Regions from separate parts of the Homo sapiens genome. Here all the other regions are linked to region 3. Evidence: promoter capture Hi-C in 16 types of primary human blood cells and fetal thymus (Javierre and others, 2016). All regions are on one chromosome and are shown on one strand. The core of a region is centred on a gene start or on the middle of the fragment in contact, and the rest is flanking DNA. Distances in the headings are between cores, read along the strand shown.

Region 1 (2,700 bases), core at 158-2,657, 340 kb after region 3:
TGTTTAGTAGCAATTAAGAGGCTTCCTTGCTCTTTCTCTCAGTAGCTACCACCATAGGTCACCACTAAGCTGTCAATAAAGTAGGACCCACAGTGAAGGTCCCAGAGCCATCAGCCGGAGTCACTATACTGTAGGGCTCTGCCGTCCAATGCAGTAGCTGGTAGCCAGATTAAAACTTTAATTAGATTGAATTAAATTAAAAATTTATTGCCTTCATTGCACTACCCACATTTCAACTGCTCAATAGCCACATACAGCTAGTGGCTTCTGTATTGAACAGCACAGATTATACAATAGTTCCATCATCTCAGAAAGTTCTATTGTGCAATGGTGCTACAGAGTAAAGCAATTTTAGACTGTTCTTTTATATTATCCAAGAAAGATTATGAACACTTCACAAGAGTCCCAAGAGTGTAACTTATCACAGGTTACACTGTGATAGTCCAGGCTCCGTCCAATCAGACTGAAGCCAAAGGGAGAAGAAACAATGTCCGTTTCTCCTCCAGGATCTTTAATGAAGGCTCAGGCTATTATGCAAGAAAATCTTACAGAACTTGGGAGTCTGCAAAAGAAGAATCACTTACCTCCTAAGATTCATGTTAAGGATGAAGATGAAGTTTAAAATAACATATTTGAGGATGAAAGAGAAAACTGGAAGTCTACTTATTTTTAAAATGGTGCTTGGAACATTGGAATTTATAACTTATTTGAACAGGATATGTGAATGGTATCCTTTCAAGTTGCTCAATCCTGTATTTCTACTTGACAACAATCTCAGTAAGCAACCAAGCATTTAATTCCTAAATTTGCATATAAGTCAAAAAAAGGATCTTTTTATACTCCAATACCTAAGTTTTGATTCCACAAGAGAGAGAACATTCTCATGTAAGATTAGGAACTAGAAACATTATTACAATAGAATATAATTATGCATTAGGGAAAAATAAACTAAGAATGTAAAGGGAAAGACTAAGATTGCTCTGGAATTTAGTGGCAAGGTTGAAATGCACTGCCTTCAGTAAAACGGCAATAGAGGCATTCCAGAGGATCAGGAAAAAGATATAACAAATCTTAAGACCCATAGAATTTTCATGGTGCTCAAATAACAAGAACTGAAATCTGCACACTGTATCATTTCAACTGTGAGAAAACAGGTGTTGAGACCTACTGAGCAGATTGAAAAACAAACAGACCTTGGTCTGCTGCTTGCGGTGTATAGAGATATCACTCTAACGGCACATATCTATAGTCCCTCTTTCTCTTTAACCATTGGACTGCATAAATCCTAGTAACTCAGAAAGCAAATTGTGTCATGGAACAAATGAAGAAGAGCAGAGGAGTTTGAAATTTCACTTCCCAAGGCATTCCACTAACAAGATTGCCTTTTTGTTCAAAAGAGGATTACTGAGGACGAGGGGAAGTGAATGAAGGAACAATTGGGCCAGTTCTTATTTTCTTAAATAGCAAAAACTAGCTATATTATGTAAAAATATATGTAATTTAGGGTTTTTTTTTTTCTAAAGCAGAGAATGACAAATTAAAACCCTTAAGTCACAAAGAAATTTGACGTTTTCTTCTGAAATGCTGAACTTTCAGGCTCAGAAACTATATTATAGTTGAAAAAACATTTAGAAGCCAGGAAATTCCAAAGCAAGCCTAGAGCAGTGCTTATTTGGACACATTACACACGGTACATATTTTACAGGCCATGTCTAACAAATAACTAGAAGATGGAAAAAAAGTGTCACATATTAAACATGACAGTATAAATTCTATAACAGAAAGAAGAATTTTGAGATGTCCTGAATGCTACTCTGAAAGTAAATATTTTATTAATCCAATTTTAGCAATTCATTTTCATTTTTTAAAAAATTAGAACAAAAAGTCATCCAAGTTGAAAAAAATTACATGTGTAAAGTACTATGTACATCACCATCCTATAAATCTGGGAGGCAGTTCCTTCCCTTTTGGCAACTCTCTAAAAATCTCATGAAACAAATGCTTGTTTTCTTCAACCCCAGACCTTAATTTTCTGTCTTTGGAACTTAAAAATACTTACATAATTGTCTTCAAATATGGCTTGACTTTTCTTCCTTGATGGAAACAGCATTCTTGCCAACTTTAAAATTTATAGCTACAACCATATTTTTTTAATTTTTAAAAGCACAAAAAATACCACAACCCCTCAAAGTGATTTTGAAATGAACATTTCTTCATCTTCATAATCACTCCACGTCACCCCATGTCAATTCCAAGTCGACATACAAATGGAAAGGACATTTATCTCTGAGTCTTGGGGCAAAATATCACATTTAGAGATAATGATATTAGCAGCTAAAAAATATTCCAGTGACAATCATACTTAAGTCATTATAACTACATCATAAAGTAAAATGGTACATCTAGTAATCAAATGTGAGTGTATGTGTGTGTATGTGTGCACACGTGCATGTATGTGGAGAGAGTGAGAGACAGGGAGGATCTCTCACATTTATAGACTACACCATAGTTTTTTTTAAAGGATTTCCACATAACTTGATTAATTTGATCTTCTGACAATCCTGAAAGGTATACAAGACAAGGATTATTATTCCATTTGATACATCAGTAAACAGATAGAGAAAGGCTGAGCACCTTGCCAAAACCCAAAGCTCATCAGTGGCATATCCTGGAAAAACAACCTGGATTGTTGACTCCCAG
Region 2 (2,715 bases), core at 86-2,585, 310 kb before region 3:
GCATACTATATATAACCCATTTTCTTTATACAGTCAAATGTTCACCAACACTTAGGTTAATTCCATGACTTTGCTGTTGTGAATATGTTCATCAGAAATATTGGCTCATAGTTTTTTTTTTTTTTTTCAATGTCATTGCCTGATTTTGGTATCAGGGTGATACTGGTTTCATAGAACAAGCTTGGGAGGAATAGCTCCCCCTTAATGGTGTGAAAAAACTACGGTAAGATTGGTATCAGCTCTTCTTCGCACATCTGGTAAAATTTGTTTTTAAATCTGTCTGGTCCTGGGCTTTTGTTGTTTGTTGAAAGATTTTTTTTTTTTTTTTTTTTTTTTGAGACGGCGTCTCACTCTGTTGCCCAGGCTGGAGTGCAGCGGTGCGATCTCGGCTCACTGCAAGTTCCGCCTCCCGAGTCCACGCCATTCTCCTGCCTCAGCCTCCCGAGTAGCTGGGACTACAGGCGCCCGCCACCATGCCTGGCTAATTTTTTTTTTTTTTTTTTTTTTTTTTTTTTTGTATTTTTAGTAGAGACTGAGTTTCACCGTGTTAGCTGGGAGAAAGATTTTTCTTTATTACTGATTCAATTTCATTACTTGTTATTGGTCTGTTTAGGATTTCTATTTCTTCCTGGTTCAAACGTGGAAGGTTGCATGTTTCCAGGAATTTATCCATTTCTTCCAGGTTTTCTAGGGTGTACACATAGGGATGTTGATAATTCTGGAGTTGTTTTGTTTTGTTTTCTGACAAAGTTTCACTCTCAATGCCCAGGCTAGAGTGCAATGGCACAGTCTTGGCTCACTATGACCTCCCTCTCCTGGGTTCAAGCGATTCTCCTGCCTCAGCCTCCAAAGTAGCTGGGACTACAGGCACCCGTCACCATGCCCAGCCAATTTTTAAATTATTATTATTTTTAGTAAAGACGGGGTTTCAACATGTTGGCCAGGCTGATCTTGAACTCCTGACCTCAGGTGTTCCGCCCGCCTCCCCCTCCCAAAGTGTTGGGATTACAGGCATGAGCCACTGCACCGGGCCAGTTCTGGAGATCTTTTGTATTTCTGTGGTATCAGTTGTAATGTTGTCACCTTTACCATTTGTGATTGTGCTTACATGATTCTTTTTTCTTGCTTAAACTAGCTAGTGATCTACCTGTTTTATTTATCCTTTCAAAGAATCAATTTTTCATTTTGTTGATTCTTTGTAATTTTTTTTTGTCTGAATCTCATTTAGTTCTGATTTGATCTTTGTTATTTCTTTTCTTCTGCTAGCTTTGGGTTTGGATTGCTCTTGCTTTTCTAGTCCCTTGAAGTGCAAAGTTAGGCTGCTAATTTTAGATTTTTCTATCTTTTTTATGTAGGTATATAATGCTATACATTTTCCCTTTAGTACTACTTTTGCTGTTTCCCAGAGGTTTTGGTATCTTGTGCCTCTATATTATTTGTTTCAAAGAAAATTTGATTTTGGCCTTAATTTTGTTTACCCAAAAGTCATTCAGGAGCAAGTTGTTTAGTTCCTATGTACTTGTGTAAGTTTCAGGGTTCCTGTTGGCATTGATTTCTAATTTTATTTCCTTGTGGTCCAAGAAGACATTTGATATGATTTAAATTTTTTCGAAGTTGTAGAGACTTGTTTTGTGGCCAAGCATATGGTCAGTTTTGGAGAATGTTTCATGTGCAGGTGAGAAAACTGTATATTCTGTGGTTGTTGGGTAGGATGTTCTGTAAATGTCTATTAGGTCCATTTGGTCTAGAGTTCAGTTTAAGTCCAGAGTTTGTTGACTTTCTACCTCCATGACTTCTCTAGTTATGTCAGGGGAGTGCTGAAGTCCCTGACTACTACTGTATTGCTGTCCATTTCTTCTCTTAGGTCTGGCAGTATTTGTTTTATGAATCTGCATGCCCTGGTGTTGGGTACACATATATTTAGGATGGTTAAATCTGCTTGTTGTATTGAACCCTTTATAATTACATAATACCCTTTTTAGTCTTTTTAAAAAATTGTGTTGGTTTAAAGTTTGTTTTATCTGATACAATAAGGATGGCTACTCCTATTTGCTTTTGTTTTACATTTTCATGGTACATGTTTTCCATCCCTTTACTTTGAGTCCGTAGGTGCTTTAACCATTAAGTCGTTCTCTTGTAGGCAAAAGATGATTGGGTCTTGGTTCTTTTAATCCAGTTTTCCTAGATCTATAGTATATATATTTTATGTGGAGCATTTTGGCCATTTACTTTTAAAGTTAATATTCAATGTGTAGTTTTGTTTCTGTCATAGCATTGTTAGCTAGTTGCCTTGGGTCTCAATTGTACAATTGCTTTATAGGGTCTGTGGGCTTTCTTTTACATGTGCTTTTATGATGGCAAGTATTGTCCTTTTGTTTTCATATTTATGACTAATTTGATCATTTCTTGTAGGGTCAGTCTAGTGGTGATTAATTCCCTTATCATTTGCTTGTCTGGAAAAGTCTATTTCTCCTTCATTTATGAAGCTTAGTTTGGCAGGATATAAAATTCTTGGCTAGCATTTTCTTTTCTTTAAAGAAGTGAAAAATAGGCCCACTTTTCTCTTCTAGCTTGTAAGGCATCTGCTGAGAAGTCTGCTGTTAGTCTGATGGAATTTATTTTATCAGTGATTTGACATTTCTCTCTAGCTCCCTTTAATATTTATTCTGTCACATTGACCTTGGATAGTCTGATGATTATATGCCTTGGTGATGT
Region 3 (2,700 bases), core at 148-2,647:
TTGCCTGGGTATTGCAGTTGTTGTGGCCCAGACAGGCTTTCAAGTTTATTTAGGACCTCAGAGCACTTTAGCCCATGGTGGTGGAGGTAGTCAAAACTCAGTTTCTGAAACCTGGGATGGGCAATTCTCCTCTGGCTAAGGGTGGTCTAAATGGTCCCTCCATTGGCAACAGCTAAGTTCTGCCCCGTATTGGCAGCACTGAATTCTAGAGTCCCACAATCGCTGTGCCCTCCCTCCAAGTGCACAGATTCTCTCTCCACACTATGTGGCTGCTGCCAGGGGATGGGGGAGGGGTGGTGTCAGCAATTCAAGATTGTCTTTCTTATCTTCCTCAGTGCTTCTTTCAACAATACGAAGTTAAAACCAGGTACTGTGATCACTTTGTGATCACTGATTTTTGGTTCTTATGAAGGTGCTTTTTTGTGTAGATAGTTGTTAAATTTGATGTTCGTGCATGGAGAACAATCAGTGAAGGCTTCTGTTTGGCCATCTTGCTCTGCGTCCTCCCCAACTTAGGATTTTTTTACTTTATCATGGGTTCATCAGGGTATTGCATGCATTTTTGACTTACAATATTTTCAACTTGTGGTGGTTTATTGAGATGTAACCCTATCATAAGTCAAGGAGCACCTGTACTATGGTAATAGAGACAGCTAGTATATCCCTTTAAATAGGAAACATACAGTGTCATAAGCTCAATGTGATTTATTCAGATTTAGACCCTAGTAATTATAAAAGTCTATACAAGTTTTTTTTTCTTTCTCAGCAATCTTAACTTCCTGTGACTGAGATTCATTGTTTTAAAGTGCATTCACAGTTGAGAAGGTTTACTTCAGAATCTCAGGGAACTGCACTAAAGAATCTGGTATCAATTTTCTGAGGATTTAAAAAAATCATACTTAAATGCTGAGTTATAAAAGATGTTGGCAAGTACAACATTTTTTCCAAACTATACGATAAAGAGCATTGAAATTTATCATGCCCCAAACCCATTAAAATTATCTTCACCTGTAACTGAACATCAGCTGTTATTTCCTTACCTTCTTTTGGCTTTCAACTTCTAGGATGTCTGTTGAAACACCCCTCAATGTTTATGTGGCCTCCAAGGCATACAAACATTTACCAGGGTAACCCCATAAGGAAAGAATTGGAAGTTTCATTTATTTTTTTCCTACCTTTAGTTCTCTTTTTTCCATCTTTCAGATCTTTAGATGTTCTGAGTTTTTCTAGCTGGAGACTGGGGAAACCTAGCTCCCCTCACTGTGGCCAGTGGAAGACTGCTGTGGAGAACCTGAATCCAAAGTGTTTTTTGTTAGGAGACGAAGTAAACAGGCCAGTTTACAGTTTCAATACCAGTATGCCTTTTTCTCTACCAACATCTGTGTGATTTACATCTTGAATCATATAATTCCATTCAGAATGAAAAGCTCAGTTTCTGATTGGCTGAAATGAGTTCTAGTATTCCTTTCTTTGTTAGAAGTCAAAATCACAATGTTCTGGAACATTAGCATGTGTTGGGTAAAGTTGATAACAGTATACTAAAACTCAGATAGCTGCTTCAGTACTGAAGTCAGAACAGTTCTCCCTGGAAAGACAACCAAACTTTTCTCTTATTGTAGCACTACATTGTAATTGCTTATTTAGCTATTTTGTAAGCTACTTTTATTCTGTTACTTCTCTGGTATTCCCAGGGTCCAGGACATTATCATGAATTCAAGAAATGTTTGATGCATAAATAAAGGAATGAAAATATATAAGGAATATTATGTTTACTAAAGGCATAATAGTTTGGCTCTTCCTGACTATCCTGAGTTATGATCAACTCTGAAAAAGGGAGTAATTTTTCAAGTCTATTAAACATAGCAGGGTGGAGGTGGAGGTAAGAAGAGTTGGGGAAAGGTATATTATGAAACATAGAAATACTATTTACTAAATACATATTAACAAATCTTAGCATAATTTAATTTTACTCCAGGCTGCCCCCCATCCCTTTCCCCTGCCCTCTTTTTTCTTGCCTATAGAATGTAAGGAAGGGAACACACTTCTTTGTTAAGGAAAACTGAGTAAGGTTGTCATTTCATTCTGTTATGACTGGAGTTTTTCCTTCTCATCATTCATCAGGTCAATTTAAGTTTTATACATCTAAACTGTGTAACACTGCATATAAAAATAAGTCCATGTTTAAGACAAAGTGGAAAAGTACCAAACACTTTTAAAAAATGAATTGAAGAAAACCTTCTCTTTGACAACTTCGGTTTTCATTTGGGGAGGTGGTATGAAATCATCTAGGTACATTTTTGTCTATTGGGATGAAGAATGCTATCCACTAAGAATATTGATTTAAAAATCAAATGCCTGGACTGGAGGGGAAGGAAAGGACAAAAGACTGCATGCTATGTGCTATTTTACATCAAGTCACCTCCTTCCTGCTATACATGAGCTTCAGTTGATGCCTTGGTTTGGAGCCTTTGAACTTTCTTAGTTATCACTGATTTTAAATGGTAGTCACTGGACCGGGGATACAATTAAAATAATGTAACATGCCATATGAACATTTTAAACCAAGAAACTGATTTTTCATTTTTGAGTGGAGAACTCAGTCCTTAAAAAAATTTGTGGTCCGAAGAAACAGCATTACTAATGAGGACTCTCCCTTTTACAACTGGGGGTTCCTGCCCACATCTTCCAAATACCTCCTTT
Region 4 (2,700 bases), core at 151-2,650, 290 kb before region 3:
AAAAATACTTAAACATTATAATCCACTGGACAAAAATCCAGTTGTCCTTGGTTATATTTCAACTCCAGACCAACCCAATCCAGATAAGCAAAGCAGAACTGGCAGTCAAGAGTGTATGGAGGTCATAAGAAAGACACAGAAGCCAGTCCATATGAATTAAGACAGACTCTCATCAGTCCTGCATGGTTAAAACTTGTTCCTATTACATAGTTGATAAATAAAGTAATTTCTCAAAGAAACCTTGGACATTATGAAAAAAGAAGCAACTAGGAGTCCACTTAGCAACTTCTCAGAAGTTATTAAATATGAACAGATACCCACAGTACCACTAGGCTGTGTACACAGAAGGATGAAAGATGATGTTGGTTGACTTCTCCATCTCTTGCAACCTGTTTACAACTGTTAATTCTGTAATTCATGCTTCAAAATACTCTAAACTTTGAAGTGATACTATATTATCTAACCTATAAAATAACAAAATGTTAACAGAGTAACGTAGATTGACTAATTCTTAAGGTAAAGAGTCTGTCCTGAAAAGCATAATAGTGTGTCATTCAGGTGATTGGTAGAAAGGAATTGTCATAATTCTCAAATAGATTATTTTTCCAGGATTTAGGCCTCTTTCCTTTAAATGACAGTGATCCCAAGAAAACCAAGAAAGTGGTTAGTGCCTCAGTTAAATGCTGTATAGCCAGTTTTGAAATTACTTAAATATCAGTAAAAATGCATATGTGAAGAATTGTCTTCAAAAAGAAATCACAGACTTCAAAATCACTAGTATTGTCTTTTTAAATTGTATTCTATTTATTATCAGAGGGAGGTTGATAGTTTACTTCGCTCTCAGAATTTTGCACCTTCAAATAGTGTCATTCTCATCTAATTTTTTTTTACTTTTACATTTACATTTAAGGAATCTTTGTTTCTGATCTTGAGATGTGGAATGAGGCTAGAGAGATGGCCAGATTGTCAGAGATCCTCTTAATGTTGTTTGGTATCTCTGGGGAATTAATAGAAATATTGTGGACTAAAGAGAGCTTAGAAAAGTGCTCTAGATGACTTCTACAGTGAGTACGGCTATTTTGGATACTTAAGCTTCATGAAGTACCTTCATAAAAAGGAAAAAAATGAATTTTAAAGGAGGCTTAGGAAGACAAATCCCAATGCTAAAAGAAAAGGCAATATAATTAAGACTATGCTTTCAAAAGCTGAGGTAAATTATTTGGGGGTTGGTTTTATAGCTCTTTCTCTCTAGAGAATAATATAAAGGTACTTCAATATATAGATTTCTGCCTGTGCTAGCTATCATCCAAGAATGACTGGCAGATTCCCATGGGTAAAAATCTCCCCTAAACAAATTCACATACTCAGGATCAGCAGGAGAGCTTGATTCTGTCCCTTCTTTTCTTACAAGCTGAGGAGGAAAACAAGAGGCCCATGCAAATTAAGTCAGTGTGCAAGCTACCATTTTTTCTTGTTAATCACTGGCTAAAATGAATAAAACACTTAACCTATTATTTGGCCAAATTTCAAAATCCCTGAATTATAGTGCAGTGTTGATATCAGTGGGTGAAAAAGCAGATTTTCTTTCCTGCCTAATTCAGAAGGTGGAAATTAGATACACTTTACCTTAGCAAGAGTCAGCCAAGTTTTTACCTCTTAGCAAGATCAGTGGTTCTCTATGAGCACTGGAACCACTTGGAAAGCTTGTGAAAATGCACAATACTGGGTCCCACAGGGATTTTGATTCAGTGTATTGGGAGGCAGGTCTAGGAAACTACATTAGAAACAAACACCACAGGCGTTCTTCAGTCCACACTTTGAGATACCCTTTTATAGAAACTTTATCACCCCATAGGTATACACAAAGCAGCTACAAATGATCCATGTGAATGATGAAATGATAGTACATTTTTGGCACAAATAAAGATTTCTTTTATTTTTCTTCTCCTCCATCCCCTTGTCTCACTATTACTTTTCTGTCTTCTCACCACCCTTTCTGTCTTCCTGCTTTTACACTGTTTCTTTCACCTCTGTCTTTGCACTGTCAGCTATGAATCATAAAAAAGGAAAATGGAAGCAGAAGAAAAGGCCTCACTTGTCTGGACTTTCTGAGTACCAGACAGTCATTCACTGATGTCCTTAAATTTAAGAAATTTCAGTGAATCAGGTGCTGATGATATAATGACCTTAATATACAAATACATGATTTTTTTATTGCTAAAAGTGTTGAAATCTCCACAAAGCAAAAGATTGGAGAGATAAAAGACAAGGAAATTCTATGTAATCAATTTTATATATTACTTGTTAGCATCTCAGAGAAAGACTTATTGAAAGACTGAAGCTAGAGAATAAGAATACCAATAACAAATTCATTCACTCATTCTTTCATGTATTCAAACATAAAGAATTATATTTCTATCTTCTTTGCCAAGGCATGAGAGAAAAGTGAAATAAGATGTATTTTTCATTGTTGTTAAAAAGTTATTCGATAAATAATTAAAAATCAAGATAACAAAGAAAAGCAAATGGAAGACTGAAAGTGTTTTTACAATATAATGTTAACTTTTGTTCTTGTTATCTAAAACTGAAGGATCTCTGTCATAATTCACAATTATATCTTTACTTAAGTCACTCAATCAATATTGGGTTGACTCTTATCAAGCTCCTGACAAAATTAAGTGAAGATGGGTTATCTTACCC
Region 5 (2,754 bases), core at 120-2,619, 320 kb after region 3:
ATGGTTCCCTAAAATGGGCAAAAGACACATCAGACATTTCATAGGAGAAGGGATACCAAAGTCTGTTAAATAGGTATAAGGCTGGTCTGTAACTTTTTTTTTGAGACGGAGTCTCGCTCTGTCACCCAGACTGAAGTGCAGTGGCACGATCTGGGCTCACTGCAACCTCCAACTCCCTGGTTCAAGTGATTCTCCTGCCTCAGCCTCCTGAGTAGCTGAAATTACAGGCATGCACCACCACGCCCAGCTAATTTTTGTATTTTTAGTAGAGATGGGGTTTCACTATGTTGGCCAGGATGGTCTCGATCTCCTGACCTCGTGATCCACCCTCCTTGGCACCCCAAAGTGCTGGGATTACAGGCGTGAGCCGCCGCGCCTGGCCTCTGTAACTTTCAATAAGTAAAATGCAAATCACAACAACAATATATTATTATTTCTGTTAGATTATCAAAAATTATATAAAATATAATTATCCAGTACTGGGGATTGAGGTACTTACATATATAGTTGTTGGGTCTATGAACTGGTTCAGGTGTTTTGGAAAAACTGGAAACAGCAGAAATACCTATCCTTAGGGAAATGTGAATTAAGTATGGCACATCCATACTGTAGAACACTATAATATTATGCCACAAAGAAGTTTTGTCATTTTATGTCTGCGAATTTACATGGAAAAATCCCTAAGACATATCATTAAATGAATAAAGTGAGGTCAACTTCACATATTTACTCAGCAGCTACCATACACCAGCTTTTAGACATTGTTAGGGATACATTAATAAGCAAAAGAGACAAAAATCCTTGCCTTGGTAGAGTTTACAATTTTAGAACAAAACATGTACAATATTTGTCTATTTTTATTTTTTTAAATCACAGTGTCTTTGTGTGTGGGTGGGTGTGTACCCATGTGCTTGTGTGTGTATATATGTGTATATATACTCCAAAATGATAACAGTGGTGGTAGCTATGGAGGTGAGTGGGATTGGGTGGGGGTCAAGGGTGTATTTATTTTATCTGCATTATTCAACTTTTTCACAGTAAAAATGTGTTCATATATTTATTGTTTAACTTGAAAATTATAGATTCAAAATTATGTACTTTGGATACAAGTAACAAATGGATACTTTATTGGCTCCATGGATACTTTGTGCTAAATAAGCTATACAGTGGTTAATAAAATAATATCTTTGGTGAGAAACATTAACATTTTTAAATGTTATCAAAATTCCAAGGAATTGGAATAATACAGGCATTTGCTTACTTGGAATCAAACACACCACACTTGTAAAACAGAGAGCATCAAAGAGGATAAAAGAGACAGAGGGAGGAAAAGAGGGAAGCAGGGAGGGAGAGAGAGGAGCTATGGGGCAGCCGGAGGGAGGCAGGAGGAGAGATGCCTTTGTTTCACCAGTTGTTCTTCCTCTGGTGAAACAAGACCATGCCTCTACTGTCCCAAAGTAAAAACATAGCAGAAAACCTAGATTCTGCCTATTGAAGGGGTATTTCAAAGTAATTTTGAGTAGATAAGATAATCTCTTCACTGGTTTTTATGCTCTAAACCCTCCATTAAGATGCAACTTGGCTGTAAAAATATGGAAAGAACATCTGCTTATTTTCTGGGGAAAAAACATAAGTGGCATACATTAAATACTATTCCAAATAAAACTCTAGATCTCAAAGACGCAGAACAAATTAACAGGCTGTATATTTGACAAAGTGTGGTTTTCATAAACTCTAATCTCTATTTTATTATAATAAAATAATGATTATTATATTTTACAAGCTATTGACTGGCCCCTTTGGAGATATTTTTATAGAATTAAAAAACAAAATGGCAACAAATTCAAATAGCCATTGTAGTTTTTTGGTTCATCAGATTAATTTCTATAAAGCCGAGCTCATTCTTTTCAGATCTAATGGCTTTATTTTAAGAAAAATTTTAAGTGGCCGGGCGTGGTGGCTCACACCTGTAATCCCAGCACTTTGAGAGGCCGAGGTGGGTAGATCACCTGAGGTAAGAGTTCAAGACCAGCCTGGCCAACATGGTGAAACCCCGTCTCTACTAAAAATACAAAAATTAGCCAGGCGTGGTGGCACACATCTGTAATTCCAGCTGCCCAGGAGGCTGAGGCAGGAGAATTGCTTGAACCTGGGAGGCAGAGATTGCGGTGAGCCGATATCACACCATTGCACTCCAGCCTGGGCAACAGAGAAAAACTGTCTCAAAAAAAAAAATTAAGTAATAAAAAAAGCAAATTAATGTAAATGATGAGACTATAAATAATTGAGACTACAAAATGAGATGCTTGATGAAATTTACAAACTATTAGAACTGTGGTTAAACACAGTGATTAGAACTGTGGTTAAACATGGTGATTAAGATTTGAATCCTGGTGCTATCATTTATGATCTGTGTGACTGGGCAAGTTACTTTGCCTCTCCATGCCTCAGTTTTCCCATCTGTAAAACTGAGATAATAGGGGTACCTACCTCATAGAGTTGTTGAGAGGAATTAATGAGCTAATGTGTGTAAAACACCCAACACCATACCTAAGTACCTAACTAGTATTATCACATTTAATACAAAAACCTTATGAAACAGTTACTATTATTATCAGCTTATTACAGATTAGAAAACTGAGGTACAGTAAGGTTTAATTAATTTGCTCATAGTGACACAGTGACTCTACTGTGTCAGCTCTGAAGAACCAAGGCACTATGTTGCTTCTCAACCTAACATAGTCAGTAGAATTA
Region 6 (2,939 bases), core at 361-2,860, 270 kb after region 3:
CAGTGACCTGAGGACACCATGATTCTCTTGTCCAAGGGAACCAGCCCTCATTTTAAAGTCTGATTGTAACATGGAATTCAACGGGAGCTCATAGCACATAGCATTCAGATGATGCTTGTCAGCTTTTGAGGGTGTAAGCAGGCAGCAGACTACACTGCTAGTATGCTCTCACTTAAAATCTGCCTGAAAAGGCCAGCAACAATTTTCTAATCCCTTTAACTTGCCTTCCCCTAAAGATTTCAAGACAGTGCTTCCAATTTTATTGGAGTCATAAATCATATATTTACTTTCTTGCGACTGGTATCCAATAGAGCTAGAGTTTTTAAGGTTTGTCTGCTGGATGTATTATGCTACTGAAATATAAAAATGGCTGCTGTGCACGCCAGTGGTTAGTAAAATTCAAAGACGTAACATTATCTTTCTCAATTGATTTGAGGAAAGAATGTTCATAAAATATATACTGCTTTTGGTTAGGAGCTTATTTCTAAATAAACAGACTCAGCAATGGAAATTTTAGAGACGGGCAAAAACAAAACATGCGTCCGTAAATGTACGTTTTAAAATCAATTCTCTCACAATCTTTGTCTTTTGCAAACTTTCTGAAGACTGTAAAATCAGTTGCATTAAGTTTATGATTTATAGCTTTCTGATTTAACTTCTTTTTCAGTTGTTGAAGGAAAATCTCTTACTCCTCTGAAATATTTCTCCTTTATTTTACAGGCTGATGTTGCATCTCTGCCTAAGAAGGCACTTCACTGCAGTGATTTGAGGGAAGCCATTTGTTTGTGATTCAGGAAAGGGAAGAAAAGTGGAATGCTCTGCTACAACATATCTATTCCTTTGAGCCCTAACAAAATAGGAAATGCAGGAGATTAGGGGACTGCATTGCCTCCAATTAAAAAAAAAAGTGCTAATCTACACAACATAAAGCCAAACTAAGTGGGGCTATCTTCTCTAATTTGCAATGAACTAAGGTCAGCTAGATTTTTATCTTAGATACAAACTGGGAAGGAGAAAACAACAAGAAAGGAAACACTACAACTTGGTTAGATCCTGCTTTTCACACAAGATTATATCACTGGTAGCTGCACAGGATGCTTCCAGAACATTAGAAGGCCAAAAATAAGCAAGGAAATATGGTTGGTTCAATGTTTACATTTATTTCAAAAAGAATAGTTCAATCTGGTGCGTAGCTGCAGACACATATATAAATATTAAAAGCACACTATGTTTTTTATTTATGATTTTTTTAAGAGAGCTGTAATTCTTAAGTTATTATCATGACGAATATTTGACCAGAAACCACATGCATACCATATAGCTCTTTACTCATTCTTTTAACAGTTTACTAAATGGACTACCATCAGCCAGTCAAAAAAAAAAAAAATACAAATATATTGTTCCTGCCTTCAATTAGCTTATATTTTATCTAGGAAAAAAAAGTTTAAATACATAAAATAACAGTACAGGTAACGTCTTAGTACAAAACTGTGAAAGCGCAGCAGATAATTAATTGGCATTTTAACAACAGGAAATATAAGCACTATAAGAATTCGGTAGGGGAACAAGTTGTTTCTGTAGGTTGACAATATCCTTCTGAGCACAGAAAAAAACTGAGTTTTTCCATTTGTGGACTCTGATGAAATAATGTTTAAGCTCTCTGAGCTTTAATTTTATCATCAATAAAATGGGGATGATAATAATAGCTACACTATAGGATTATTATAAGAAACAAATACGTTGTACATGAATGGATTTTGTAATCTGTAAAGAAGCTGTAAAATGACCATTGAGAAAGTAGTCAAAGGAATCATGCCAAACAGTTACCATTAGTTTGGGAAGACAGAAAGGGTTAAGAAGTTGGAAGGGATAATGATGATTAAGAAGTTGGAATGGATAATGATGATTAATTTTTTTCTTGACATACCTCTCTATTGTTTGAACTTGTGCACTAATCTTGTAACAAAAAAAACTTAAGGCTATAAAATATTAGCTGAAGTACGCATATCTGGATATCACAAAATAATTGTAAACACTAGTAACCCTGCCCCTTTAGAGGTACACAGAAAGAAGCCTCAGTCCTGGTTTCAATTTGAGAATTTCCAAAGTCATAAAAATGTGCCAAGATTGGGAACAATAACTAACTGAAACAGCGTTTCCTTTTAATAACCCTTTATAATAGAGCAAATTTTGTAGTCACCCAAAACCATCTATTGATTCAATAATCACTTTGGTCAACAACTTTTGAAATAAGCAAATTAAATAACTTTAGTTCCTCAAAGTCAAGGATTTGTCATGTCCAACCTTGCTTTCTAGGGCCCAATACATTTTGGGTATTCAAGTGATAACTTTACAGACGTAAGAAAAGTTATTAAGGCATTTCCAAATCAATGCCAAGGACTTTTCAGAGCAGAATGACCAACTTTTTAAACTGCACTTGGTAACAGATGTGTATTCCTAACTTTTTATGTAAGTGTGAGCTTTTTGAGGGCAGGAGTCAGGTCTTAATCTTTGTATGCCCAGTTGCTGGTATTGTGACTAGCAGGTGAGTAGGCAAGAATAAATATTCGTTGAACTATTTGGAGGCAAGAGCACCCACAAACACTTCAGTTAACTGGAAACTCAAGGAGATGGACATATATTCTAAGGGGAACTCAATTTCTATAGCTGTCTCTGGAGAAAATTCCTTAAAATGTTTCACGAGTCATAATGATTAGTATAAAGTTAAGTCACTTGATGGAAATATTGTAAGATTCTATTTGGTGTAGGTAGTAGAACCATTTGAGGGCATATAGATGTACAGACTAAGGTGAAATCATGGTGCAGTCTGATCAAAACCACCTTTTGTTTGCCTTGACAAAAATTTCCAAGGCATGTCTTATGGACATAAATGAAAGTGGGCAGAAAAAAAGGCTTTCACTTTCTGTGGCAGAAGCAGG
Region 7 (2,931 bases), core at 65-2,564, 300 kb after region 3:
GGAGTTTTCAGAGTTTAAGCTGATGTGATGCTAAATAAATTGCCTGATCTTACTGGCACCATTAGATTCATTCCTCAAAGATGCACCACTATTTCTAGAAGCATTTAATGTAGCTGAAAAGGATATTTATTAAACATCATTTAGTCCAGTGGATTTAGTCAACTGAGCTACAGGACAATTATTTTGCTAATTTTAATTTAAAAATTTAAAAATTTTACTAATAACAGTTAAAATTTTCAAAGAATGGACATACAAATAATTAGAATATATTTAAGATTATCCCTATGACATTATATCACTTGCAATGCAATATGCTTTCTAATTTGAAGGGAAAAAGAAGATTACAGCTGCCATGTTGTGAAGAAACATGACCCACATCTCTTACCAGTTACCCATGGAAGTGAGTTCAGCACTGGATGTTGTCAGCAATTAAGCTGCCATCATAAAAAGGTTAAGAAGCAGTAGTCCAATCCCAGCCCTTTCTTTTACAATAAAGGAAGCACATTTTTCACAAATGGACTTGTTTTTCTGATAACAATCAGCTCAAAATAGGATTTTAGAAAGAACAATTCCTAATGTACTTTTCACTAAGGAATTGAGGGAAAGAAGCTGCAAAATCAAAGTAAAACAGTGGAATGAGATAAGAAAAGGCAGACATTCAGGAAAAATGGTCAGACCACAAGGAGTAAGACCAATAAGGGGAAATTAATAAAAAGAAAAGAAAAAGGAAAGTAAGTGGGAACAGAAGTCAAAGACTAAATAAAATTTGAAAAGAATGCCAAGACAAATAGGATTAGTGGTAGAAGCCCTTCACAGAGAAAGAGAAAATATAAAATGTTAATTTTATATTCAAATTTAAAACTGCCAAAATAAATCTATTAATGTCCACTACAACAGCCACTTACATCTTCTTAGTATTTGAATATCAAATTCTGTTTTGAGTATTCGAGTAAACAAGAACAAGCAAACCCATAATTACATGACTAGAAAGGACCTTGAGAGCTAAAAGGGCATGTTCTCATTTGTTCAGCAGGAGACAAACTGTTTTTTTTAAATTTATTGCCCATAAATATCACCCAAGCTTCTTTTGCCAAATAGGAAAACTTTGAAAGCAACTGCAAGACCAGCAATGGGAAGAGTGGAACAGCCCAGCCTCTTCTCTTGGTGATTAGCCTACCCTAAGAGAATATGTGTTCTGTTAGTTTCCTCCATGCTATGAGAAAACAGATTTTGTCAAGGTCAGCAAAACCTGTATGTTACGGGTAAGTTCAGACCCCAACATCTGGCTGACATACTGGATCATAAAATCAATACAGAGACAAGGAATAAAATCATGGGAAGACAAAAGTACATGTGGAAGACTTCTAGTGTGGCCAAGGTCTTGAACCCTGTGAGCAGGGGGTTTGACCTTGATCTCACTTATGGTCGACCATGCAAGTTTTTTTCAGCTATGCAGCTGTCTTTTTTTTTAACTGCTGCAGCCTAGATAAAGGTTATAATCCATGCACCGTTAGATAGTTTGATCTTGGTAGATTACAAAAGCTTATAACTAGGCTTTCTCAGTAGATAAGCAGCTGCTTCTATAAAGGTAGTTCACATACCTTGGAGCCTACCTGGCCAAATGCTGGGGAGCTGCATGGGCTCCTCGAAGGCAATGGACAGTCCAGTCACCCAGTTGGTTAGGAAAGATCTACCTTTGCGAGCACAGGCATCCTCAGGATACAGGTTACTTGTCCTTGAATTTGGCTAGCAGACTCGTTTCTAAGGCATGCCTGAGACAGGGATTTAACTATAGGGAAAAGAGTCTTCCCATTTACAGGCCTGGCAGGCCTCGAGAGGTGAACTAGATTTCCTAATTTTATACTATAAGGTAGCTGAGGTCTGTACATACCACAATGCACTCTATAGGTTCTAGTATTAACCTGTCAGAGCCAGGCCTAGGAAGGAAGGGTTAGATCAGCTGCCATCAGTGCCATTCCGTGCTCTGGGCCAGGGCAAGAAGGGAACTGTGGAGAGCTAACCTTAACTGGTGTGGCTTATTTACAGACTTAAGGGTCTCTCCCACCCCACTCACTCTTCTCCTAAGCACATGCTTTCCAGCTGGCTCTGGATTAATGAGATAGAGGGGAGAATGTCTCCTCAGGAAGCCTAGGCTTCTTAGACCAGTAAATTTTGTAACAGGAGGCAGGAGGAGAAATGCAAAGGAAAAAGGAAAGTAAAAATTAGGAGGTTTTGAATATGCTGTATGGAAAAGGAAGGCAACTAAAAAATATCCTGGTGGGTAACTGGAGCTGTGGTCCCTGCAAATTCCTGAATTTTGCAATAGACGGCCATGTTTCAAGTGTCCTTCTCCAAGAGTATGCACATAGATGGCTTTCCCCCTTGACGGTAAATGCATGGTGGCAAAGCTAACTTCTTAAAAACACCTTTGGGAATGTAATTCTTGAACTTTTGTATCTAGGAACTTCACAGTAGGAGAGGATTCATATTCACATTGAGGAGGGGGCTCACAAAATTCCCATGTCTAGTTTGTTGATATTTTATTATTAATGTATATTATTTCATTTGATCATTGCAGAATTTCTGATAAGCTATAGAAACAGCATGTCTGAACATAATTTGAAACAAGAAATAAGGAGCAAACGTGTAACCTTGTACATAGGCTGGCCTTGAAGTGGACTCTACAAATGCACTGCTTTGACCCCTCTCAGAACTTTCTGTCCACTAGTGGTGCTAAGAGGATGCCCATAGGAGCCATGATTAGCTTTGGGGGAGTGATATCAAGAAGGTAGAAGCAGAACTGATAGAGCTTTGACTTCTTACCTCAAAGAGGGATAGCCACAGCCCTGGTTGGCCACCAGAATAAGGATTAAACTCAATGGAATAAAAGGTGGGAGAAGATGGAGCAATACCGCTGAGGGTTGAGGAATG

What was found. Contacts are between HindIII fragments. The CHiCAGO score rates a contact against its expected background, and 5 or more counts as called.
Region 1: a fragment that was not itself captured here is called in contact with the fragment with the promoter of C1orf105 in region 3 in 10 of 17 cell types (activated CD4 T cells, naive CD4 T cells, non-activated CD4 T cells and 7 more); the score reaches 11.2 in activated CD4 T cells.
Region 2: a contact is called between a fragment that was not itself captured here and the fragment with the promoter of C1orf105 in region 3, in 1 of 17 cell types (erythroblasts). The highest score is 8.2, in erythroblasts.
Region 4: a fragment that was not itself captured here is called in contact with the fragment with the promoter of C1orf105 in region 3 in 4 of 17 cell types (erythroblasts, megakaryocytes, naive CD4 T cells and 1 more); the score reaches 10.2 in erythroblasts.
Region 5: a contact is called between a fragment that was not itself captured here and the fragment with the promoter of C1orf105 in region 3, in 9 of 17 cell types (naive CD4 T cells, total B cells, activated CD4 T cells and 6 more). The highest score is 9.4, in naive CD4 T cells.
Region 6: a contact is called between a fragment that was not itself captured here and the fragment with the promoter of C1orf105 in region 3, in 3 of 17 cell types (M1 macrophages, non-activated CD4 T cells and total B cells). The highest score is 6.8, in M1 macrophages.
Region 7: a fragment that was not itself captured here is called in contact with the fragment with the promoter of C1orf105 in region 3 in 9 of 17 cell types (naive B cells, total B cells, total CD4 T cells and 6 more); the score reaches 8.7 in naive B cells.

What each region holds. Positions count from the first base shown.
Region 1 is chr1:172,084,067-172,086,766 of GRCh38, reverse strand. The region is part of intron 12 of DNM3 (dynamin 3); the gene reads right to left. Among named protein-coding and RNA genes, the nearest start is that of MIR3120, 53 kb to the left of the region's middle. The HindIII fragment of the contact is 8,924 bases long and covers 1-2,700 here.
Region 2 is chr1:172,729,582-172,732,296 of GRCh38, reverse strand. No RefSeq gene overlaps it. Among named protein-coding and RNA genes, the nearest start is that of FASLG, 72 kb to the right of the region's middle. The HindIII fragment of the contact is 2,306 bases long and covers 183-2,488 here.
Region 3 is chr1:172,419,382-172,422,081 of GRCh38, reverse strand. C1orf105 (chromosome 1 open reading frame 105) reads right to left here and starts at 1,397. Exons shown (of 7, transcript NM_139240.4): 1 at 1,176-1,397. The coding sequence starts at 1,196. All of the region lies in intron 1 of LOC102724528 (a long non-coding RNA gene), which reads left to right. The HindIII fragment of the contact is 10,347 bases long and covers 1-2,700 here.
Region 4 is chr1:172,713,088-172,715,787 of GRCh38, reverse strand. No RefSeq gene overlaps it. Among named protein-coding and RNA genes, the nearest start is that of FASLG, 55 kb to the right of the region's middle. The HindIII fragment of the contact is 611 bases long and covers 1,095-1,705 here.
Region 5 is chr1:172,101,349-172,104,102 of GRCh38, reverse strand. All of the region lies in intron 13 of DNM3 (dynamin 3), which reads right to left. Among named protein-coding and RNA genes, the nearest start is that of MIR3120, 36 kb to the left of the region's middle. The HindIII fragment of the contact is 5,224 bases long and covers 1-2,754 here.
Region 6 is chr1:172,146,746-172,149,684 of GRCh38, reverse strand. The region is part of intron 14 of DNM3 (dynamin 3); the gene reads right to left. Among named protein-coding and RNA genes, the nearest start is that of DNM3OS, 3.4 kb to the right of the region's middle. The HindIII fragment of the contact is 3,683 bases long and covers 1-2,939 here.
Region 7 is chr1:172,123,759-172,126,689 of GRCh38, reverse strand. All of the region lies in intron 13 of DNM3 (dynamin 3), which reads right to left. Among named protein-coding and RNA genes, the nearest start is that of MIR3120, 14 kb to the left of the region's middle. The HindIII fragment of the contact is 461 bases long and covers 1,084-1,544 here.